Linked DNA regions of Homo sapiens: region 1 is linked to region 2. Evidence: promoter capture Hi-C in 16 types of primary human blood cells and fetal thymus (Javierre and others, 2016). All regions are on one chromosome and are shown on one strand. The core of a region is centred on a gene start or on the middle of the fragment in contact, and the rest is flanking DNA. Distances in the headings are between cores, read along the strand shown.

Evidence for each region. The method cuts DNA at HindIII sites, captures the fragments that hold promoters and counts their contacts. A CHiCAGO score of 5 or more calls a contact.
Region 1: a contact is called between a fragment that was not itself captured here and the fragment with the promoter of NFX1 in region 2, in 1 of 17 cell types (non-activated CD4 T cells). The highest score is 5.4, in non-activated CD4 T cells.

The regions. Positions count from the first base shown.
Region 1 is chr9:26,891,095-26,895,628 of GRCh38, forward strand. It overlaps CAAP1 (caspase activity and apoptosis inhibitor 1), which reads right to left and starts at 1,708. Exons shown (of 6, transcript NM_024828.4): 1 at 1,319-1,708. The coding sequence starts at 1,621. RefSeq lists enhancers at 1,107-1,686, 1,258-1,437, 1,518-1,737, 1,687-2,266, 1,868-1,937. The HindIII fragment of the contact is 207 bases long and covers 2,173-2,379 here.
Region 2 is chr9:33,288,215-33,292,718 of GRCh38, forward strand. It overlaps NFX1 (nuclear transcription factor, X-box binding 1), which reads left to right and starts at 2,302. Exons shown (of 24, transcript NM_002504.6): 1 at 2,302-2,383. The coding sequence starts at 2,359. It also overlaps the pseudogene LOC100862682. RefSeq lists enhancers at 231-1,192, 1,898-2,317, 2,328-2,377, 2,347-3,546, 2,528-2,577. The HindIII fragment of the contact is 6,050 bases long and covers 1-4,504 here.

The sequences.
Region 1 (4,534 bases), core at 1,026-3,525, 6.4 Mb before region 2:
GACTAAAGGAGAAAAAGTATGTGATCATCTCAACAGAATGCCAGAAAACCACCTGATAAAATCTCTACATAAACTGTTTCTACTCTACCAAAGAGAATAATGAGCAGAGGATATGTACAGAAAATTACATAAGAAGAAATCAAATGGCAAATAAAAATATTAAAATGTTCAATCTCACTAATAAGGAAAATAAAAATTAAAACAAACTATTAATTTGACCCACTAGTCTGGCAATTTTTTTAAAAAATGCCATCAAAATGTCATCAAAAGCTAGTTAAGAATCTCAGAAATAGGTATTCTTATATATATACTGTTTGGACTATAAATCTGTAAAGTCTCATTTGGAAAGCATTTGGTGGCATTCATAAGTTTTTAATAGCATAAACTTTGACCCAGGAATTTCAGTTCTCACACTCTCTCCCAACATAACTCTTGTAGGAGATATATACATAAAGGTGTTTGTATTGTAGTCACAACAATACAAAAAAACCTGCACACCCAAATATCAGAAAAATATAATACAATACCAGGCAGTCAGTAAAAATAACAAACCACGTATATAAAGAAGCCTATCACAACAATGCAGGTATTCAACAGCGGGAATAACACAATACAGCTTAAGTGTAGGAACTTAAAAACACGTATCTCACGAGGAGTGATTAAAAGAGGCCGCGTATCAAAATACTAATGGAGGGGCAAGAAAAGGGACTTGACGCTTTCCCTTTATTTCCTCATTGAATGAATTTAAAGTACCTATTCATTCATTTGTTTTCAAACAAATTATGAACTTTTTTAAAACGGCGTTCTCTTGGCAGACTGGTGGCGTATAAAGAACATGGCTTTTGTAGTCAGATATTTGGATTCAAACCTAGGAGCTATTAACAAACTCTGTGACCGTGGGTAAAGTTTAACTTCTTTGGGCCTCAATTTTCTTATCTCTAATGCGGAGTTAACCATATCTACGAAAAGGTGAAGACGAAGGGAGAAGTGTTTGGCTCGCAAGGGAAATGAAGGCTAGCTTCCAACTCGTATTCTTCCGGCAGAGTGAAACCATAGGAGTGGAAGGAGCCAAGAGTTTAAAAAATAAATTAAAAAAAAAGTGATCAGGAAATCCAGAAACTTGAAGTTCAAGATTCAAGACACGGATGGGAGTGTGGGGCTCACCAGGACTTAGGTAGGAACATGAACCTCAAGGACGGACGACCTTGAGATTGCCGCGCTAGCAGTGAGCTCCAGCCTGCGCCCCATCCCTCTGGAAGCCCGACTTCTTCCGAAAAAGCAGCAGCTCCAGGAAGCGGCCAGAGGGGCGCGCACGCACCTGCTGCAAGGAGCCCGAGACGCTGGAAGAGTCGGTACTCCTCCGCTTCCGGCGCTCGCTGCGCTCCACGCTGCTCCCGCCCCAACAGCTGCCGCCGCTCCCACCGCCGGTGACACTTCCACTAAAATTGGCGTTCCCACAGCAGCTGACGCTCCCGCAGCCCCCGGCGCTCCCGCAGCCGCTAGTGCTTCCACTGCTGCCGCTGGCCAACGCGGGTACGATGTCCGGGGCCGCGAGCGCTGCGGCCGCCTCCTGACTGCTACGTTTGCGCCGTTTCTCCCGGGAGGACTTTTTCCCCGTCATGATCCCTCTGCTGCAACCATCGGAGGAAAGTCCGCTGTCTCTGGTGCGACCGAAGCCCGACTCCTGCGGCCGTGGGCGGCAGGCACTGGCGTCGCAGGTTATGCGTCACTTCCGGCCGTGGCACAGAACGTGGTGAAGCGTTATGGGCCGGGGTGGCAGGGGGGTTGCCATAACCAGTTGCGCTTCCCCCTCCGGTCGCGGAGGTCGATTTGAGTGTGTAGCGGGTAGCCTGTCTAGTCAGAGTTTGTTTTGTTTTGTTTTTATATCTCTACAAAGGATAGAAGGTGGAACTTACGTCCTTTTAACTTCAAAACTTTTTATTGTTAGTGTTTTGTCTGTTTACAATAAGGTTGAAGTATAGTTGCTGATTCTCCATTTCCGTTTACCTCCAAATCTTAAGATATTAACAACGCTATGACAATAAAGAGAATAGGGAAAAGTTGTTCCATCTCATTTTCCTCATCACCTGGGCAAATTAGGTATTTCTTGCGTAGAGTCTGACATGGACAAGTAGAGCTTGAGTTCGTTTTTGAAAATTGAGAATGGGTCAAAGCTTTATGAGATTTTATGGGTGGATGTAATCTAAATAGAAGGCAGATTTTAAGACAAGGGAGCTAGAACACTTAAAACGTGAACCAAGGTCTTTGTCGTTTCAGCAGGGGCCTTTAGCCACTGAGGGAAAAAGGTAGAGCCTGGGGCAAAGCTAGCTGGGTGGTAGTAATTCTGTGCCTTTCCCTGGGGTAAGAAGCAATTAAAGAAGCTTCCCTTCTCTTTGTCTCCTATTTGTCTCAGTCATTCAACAACTACTTAAATGCCTAAAACCAGCCTAGGGTTAATAAATAGGGACACTTCCAGCCCTAGGAAAACTGTCTTCCCCCAGGCCCCACTCTTAAATTGGCCTTGTAAGGTAAATCCTGGGGCTGAGCCCACTGTGTTCCCAGGAGTTCCGTTAAGTATCACACTCATTGGAGTCATACCTGAAAGGATTGAGAGTGTTGTGTTCACAGATAGGAAAAACACATAAAATTAATAACATGTTACATTTATAAACCTGTTATGAATTGTGTCCCTGAAACCATCATAATTTTAATAAAACTAAATTGCTAGATTTTTTCTTTTTTCTTTTTTTTTTTTTTGAGACGGAGTTTCACTCTCGTTGCCCAGGCTGGAGTGCAATGGCACAATCTCGGCTCACTGCAACCTCCGCCTCCCGGGTTCAAGCATTTCTCCTGCCTCAGCCTCCTGAGTAGCTGGGACTACAGGCATGCGCCACCATGCAGGGCTAATTTTGTATTTTTAGTAGACAAGGGGTTTCTCCATGTTGGTCAGGCTGGTCTCGAACTCCCGACCTCAGGTGATCCACCCGCCTCAGCCTCCCAAAGTGCTGGGATTACAGGCGTGAGCCATCGTGCCCTGCCAAATTGCTGGATTTGTGACAAAAGATAAGCTTTTAGTAGAAGCATAGCTAAACGTTAACCAACTTTTCCTATAGCCCACTTCCTTATAGCTGCTTATTGCTTTATAGATATCTTTGACTCGGTTAAGAAATCTCAAGTTTTCCATTTTGAGATATTTACCAGATTCTGTACTCCAATGGTGTTACAGAAGTTAAGAAATTATTTTAGGCAGATAGAGAGGTAAAGGGGTCTTTGGGAAGTTTTTTTTCTTTTAAAGCAGCTCCAGAAATGTTTCTTGTCTAGCAAAAAAGCTGGGCTGGCAAGCTATGATATGCAAATGCAGGCCGTTAGAAACTGGGTTTACTCAGTATGGCGATTCCCCTCTTCTTCTTGTCCCCACATGTGCCTAGCAACATGGCCATCCCCACATATCCCCACATGTGTAGAACATTGTGGCACCCTACATTCGCATATTAAAAGGCTAGGGTGGGAGGGCCACTTTTTTTGCAGGCTACGTGAATGACATACCTGGTCAAACCAATTCCCTGGGTCATATGCAAATTAGTCACCACCTCCTCCAGCCTCATAATATAACTGGCTCTTGTCTGCTGCACCCAAGGTTCCCTCTTTCATCTGGGAGCCCTCTTCCCTCTGGTTCTGTATGAGGGAGCCTCTTCTTTCTTGCCTATTAAATTCTCCGCTCCTTAAAACAATTCCACTTGTGTCTGTATCGTTTTATTTAAACCAGCACGAGACAAAAGACTGTGGTGTTCCTCCAGTCATTGGAACCATATCAGTGGGGTCACTGATGCTACTCAGTCTGAAGACCCCTTCTGAGAAACGAACTCAGCACAAGAATGCACTTTCTACCTCCTTATGATTACATCCCCCATGCCCTAACCAATCAGCAACCCCTAGCTCCTCAGCCCCCTACCCACCAAAATTCCCTTAAAAACCCCTGTCCAAAAACTTACTGGGGAGGTGATTTGAGGTTCCCTCCCATCTTCTCCCTTGGCTGGCATACCATTATTAAACTCTTTCTCTGCTGCAACTCCTGCTGTTTCCATGTATTGGTCTGGTACCATGTAGTGGTTAATAGAACCTGATGGTCCTATAACATCACCCACAGAATTCATATGTTGAATCCCTAACCCCAATGTGACTGAATTTGGAGATAGGGTCATTAAGGAGGTAATTAAGGTTAAATGAAGTCATAAGGGTGGGTCCCTAATCTAATATAACTGGTGTCCTTATTAAAAGAAGAGTCTGGGCCAGGCATGGTGGCTCACGCCTGTAATCCCAGTGCTTTAGGAGGCCGAGGCGGGTGGATCATGAGGAAGATGGAAACCATCCTGGCTAACACGGTGAAACCCCGTCTCTACTAAAAATACAAAAACAAAATTAGCTGGGCGTGGTGGCAGGCGCCTGTAGTCCCAGCTACTCAGGAGGCTGAGGCAAGAGAATGGCGTGAACCCAGGAGGTGGAGCTTGCAGTGAGCCAAGATCGCACCACTGCA
Region 2 (4,504 bases), core at 1,052-3,551:
TCCAGCCTAGGCGACAGAGTGATAAGATTCCTTTTATTTTTCAAACCAATGGGGCTGTGTCTGTTGTCCCCCTCGGTCCCCAGGGGTGGGGGGGCCTTGGAAGGCAGGGTGGTGTTGGGGGGCTGGGGGGCAGGCTGAGTGTGTGTGTGTGTGTGTGTGTGGGTGTGGGTGTGTGTGGAGTGTGGGTGTAGGACTCCAGTCCCAGCTGCTGCCTAGGCTCCTGTGGGTCCGACCGGGTTCCCCCTCCCCTGTCCACCTTCCCCAACAGGGCTATAGTTTCAGGGTGTCCCAGGCCTTGGCTGGTTGGCTGGGCCCAGCTCCTGGGGGCTGGGCAGGGCAGGGCAGGGCAGGGCCGGGTCCACTTCCATTGTTAGCAGTTGTTTGCAGAATTTTCTCTGTTACCATTCCTCTCTTTTTGTTCTCGCCCAGAGTGGGTGGTTTTTTGTTGTTGTTTTAGATTTTCATGTGAAGGCAGAGAGTTTTTTTTCTTTTTTAACTCCCCATCCCCCTATGCGGGGTGTCATTTCACCATCCACATCCTTGTTTGCGTTTCTGGCCCTCGTCCTCCCTGCCTCTCCTCTGCCTCCCCAACCCCCGCCTACCTACTGCTCCCAGGGGTCTCTCCAGGGGCAGGGGGATTTCAGGAGATGGGGTGGGGGCCAGCCCCTACTGGACCCTTGTAATCTGATTTGAAGACCATCCCCCTGATGGGACCAGCAGCCCCGCTGGCCCACTGGGGGTCCCTCTTAACATCTGCTTGTTGTGGGGGTCAGTGCCACGGTCTGCTGGGGTCTTGGCACTGTCTTCCTGGCCGGGGCCTGGCACCTTAGCCCCCAGCCGGCCCGAGTGGGGGATATCGACACCCCCAGCTAAAGCACAAGCACCTTAGTCATCCCTCCTCTCCCCCTGCCTCCTGGCCTGCCACCCCACCCCAGCGTTTACCCCAAAGCACAATGCCCTGGTCACTTGGCAAGTGGCTGGGCCTGACGGAGGCCAAGGGGCAGACCGGGGCTCCAGCCAGACCCCCGAAAGGAAGCAGGTGCTCCCCCACTTCCAGGACTTAGTTGGGGCGGGGGGCCCAGCTCCTGGGCCTAGGGTCTTCTCACCCCCACCCCCTTGTCCTGGGTAGGCCCCTGCCTGCCCCTCTCTGCCTTTTCCTCGGGTGTCCCTCCTCGAGCCCCTGCGGCACTGGCTTGGGTGGCAGAGCCCACTTGTTTCAGGGACCCCAGGAGGTGGTGCCCCCTGGCTCCTGGGACTGTGTGTGGGTCTGGGGGGTGGGGGGGTGGGGAGAAGCGTCGGGCAGGGGGTGCAGGGGAGGAAACTCCTCACCAGGAAAGCCAAAGACAGGGTTGTGCCTTACCTCAGGAGCCACCCGTTCCCCCTTGCCCTGCCGTTCACCCTCCACCTTTCCCCCCGGGCGGCCTGCTGCTTTTTCCTTCTCTTCCTCCCCTGCCCTGCCCTGAGCTGCATGGTTCCCCTACCCTGGGAAGCCAGGAAGGAATCTGAATGGAGAATCACCAACCACCAAAGAAAAAAAGACTGCGGGGCCCTCCCCTGCCAACTCCCCTTCCCTGGCCGCCCACTCACCCACACCTCTTTCACGCAGGACAGGCTGCCCACCCTGTCCACGTGAAGTGCCAACGCCCTCCCCACCCTGGGCCGAGCCCCCACCCCTCCCTGGGCCCCCAAGTGAGATTGCACATTTAACTACTGTAAGGAGAGGAGCGGCGTTGGCAAATGTGAACCATGAGAATATCGGTGATACTGATGAGAATAAACGCCTTTGTAAAAAAAAAAAAAAAAAAAAAAGTCTGGAGCCAGGCGTGGTGGCTCGCCTGTAAGCCAAGCACTTTAGGAGGCCAAAGCGGCAGGATCGCTTGAGGCCAGGAGTTGGAGAGACTAGCCTGGGCAACATGGCGAAACCCGTCTCTACTAAAAATAGCTGCGCATGGTGGCTCCGCCTGTAGTTCCAGCTACCGGAAGGCTGAGGCGGGAGGATTAGAGACTGAAGCTATAGTGAGCCATGATCAGACCACTGCACTCAAGCCTGGGTAAGGCAGCAAGACCCTATATCAAAAAATAAAAAAAGGAAAACCACAATGATTACGCAAGTCGCCGCCCTCCCTCCTGCGATTGTTGCTATTTCCATCCAGCTACTAGTCTCCTCCTCCCGCCCGACACCTGGCGCGTCTATCTGACGTCACGAACGCGCCACACAGATTCGGGCTGCGCAACCTCTGTGGCCGTCTACACGGCGCGCAGATGCGAATATTCTCGCGGCGCCGGAAGTCCGGGGCACGTGACCTGGTGACAGTGCTGACTTGGCTGTACAGCTCGATCTAGGTTCTGCGGCACGGGATGGCGGAGGCGCCTCCTGTCTCAGGTATTGTCCCGGCCCGAGCGGGACTGGGCCCCTTTCAGGGAGCGGAAATTGGGTCAGTGACGAAGTTCTAGGGCCTCAGCCACTCATATCGCGAGAGTAGCACATGCTAGGGCGTAGGATAGTGGCTCGGAAGGGCCAAGCCCCGCGCATCGTGCGTACGAAGATCTGTGTCTTCTTGGACTAGATGGTGAAGCCCAGTAGCTGGGTTTCGGAGGAGAGAGGACTTGTCCCGGCGCTGCGAGTCGATGTGGGTGCCCTGCCTTCCCACAGGCTGTTTCTGGGGCAGCGGCGCACTGACCTTCGACAGGCGGGCGTCGGCCAGGTCACAGCCAGTGACGGTGGCGGGCTCTTGACGTGTAGGGTGTGGTGTGCTCATACCGCCTGGAGTGGTGGCGTGGGCGCGAGCCGAATTCCAGTAGTTTAGAGTCTCAGCCTGCTGCGAACCCCGTGTGACTCAGTCTCAGTCTCCTCATCTGTCAGTTGGGAGTAGATAAGTTAATTCCTGTGATGGCTCCCGCCCTGTACTGTACCTATTCTGTAATTGTTCACTCACTCCCCCTCCTGGAGTTGCCTCAGTGTGTAGAGACAGCCTCATTTGTTCGTTGATATAACATCCATTTCCTCAGGGTGTTCCATAGATCAGTGTTTTCCAAATGTGTTGGACAGCAACCAAAAGAAACATTTTGCATCGCGACCTTAAATATTGTACACTTACATAAATATAAAAGCGAACCAGAAGTTTCTGGAAGCAGTGAGGTTGGTTGGTTTGTTTTACAATCAGCAATATATTCTGTTTTCTGTTTCGTTTAAAAATATGTCACAGCCCACTGCCTTCATTTGATTTTATGGCCCACTCTGGAAAACAGGGCAGCAGTTTGCAGAATGGAGTTTGGAAACCATTGGTTTGAATCTCAGCTCTGTCCCTGACCAGCCGTTGGGGCACCAAGAAGACCATATATGTATTTGTATACTGGGTGGCAGGTAAAATGTATTTATTACTATGGTTCTTAGTTTAAAAAGTTAGGGCCGGGCGTGGTGGCTCACGCCTGTAATCCTAGCACTTTGGGAGGCCGAGGTGGACGGATCACGAGGTCAGGAGATCGAGACCATCCTGGCTAACACGGTGAAACCCCGTCTCTACTAAAAATACAAAAAATTAGCTGGGCATGGTGGCACGCGCCTGTAGTCCCAGCTACTCCGGAGGCTGAGGCAAGAGAATTGCTTGAACCCTGGAGGCGGAAGTTGCAGTGAGCCAAGATCGTGCCACTGCACTCCAGCCTGGGCGACAGAGTGTGACTTCGTCTCAAAAAAAAAAGTTGGAAAACACACTGCATTGGTGTACCCTAGTCTTGATGTGGATATTAAGTCTTCCTTGGGGTTGGAAAACTTTTTGGGCTGGGTATTTTGTTATTCTCCTCACCTAGTCCTTCACCAGATTCTCTAAACTGGATCTATTGATCGTCTCATCCACAGGCTCGTTTCTGACTCATTTCTGTACCCTTCAGTGTTTGAAGAAGAATTCGGTGGGGCCTAGTTGTGAGTCTTCGTGTTGAACTTTGGTGTTGTGCCCAAGTTATTACCTCCAACCCAGAAAGTATCTAATGAGGCAAAATCTTCTAGTCCAAAGACCTCCTTACTCCTTTTCATGTGCTTTAGTTTGATTTTGCTTTAGTTCCCATTCCATGTTCGTATTTTAGCATCATCTTTAGCCCACACCCTCATCATCAAAGTCTTTAAACAGAAGCCCAGTGCAGAGGATACTTTTCTGCCGGTGAGCAGACTCTGCAATGCCAGCCTTGTCTCTGGACTTTGTAATCTGCCAGTTGGATTTCCCTTTAGTCTGCCTTTCCCACCTGTTGGACACCTACTGTGCTGCTGTGTTATCTTGGATTTAGGGTACCACTTGTATTCTAGCCGTGGTGACTAGACATCCTGTTTACTAACTTCCAGCTACTTGAAATAGTGAAATAAAAATGGTGCCTCTGATCTTTGCCATGGCCAGTTTCCTGATCAATGTGTCCTGTTTCCCTTCCTCATGTCTCTTATGGGTTTTTTTCCTGAGGGCTTTGCCTGCTGCCTCATGTCTAGTTGAACATATCCTGTATATGAGTACATGCAGCC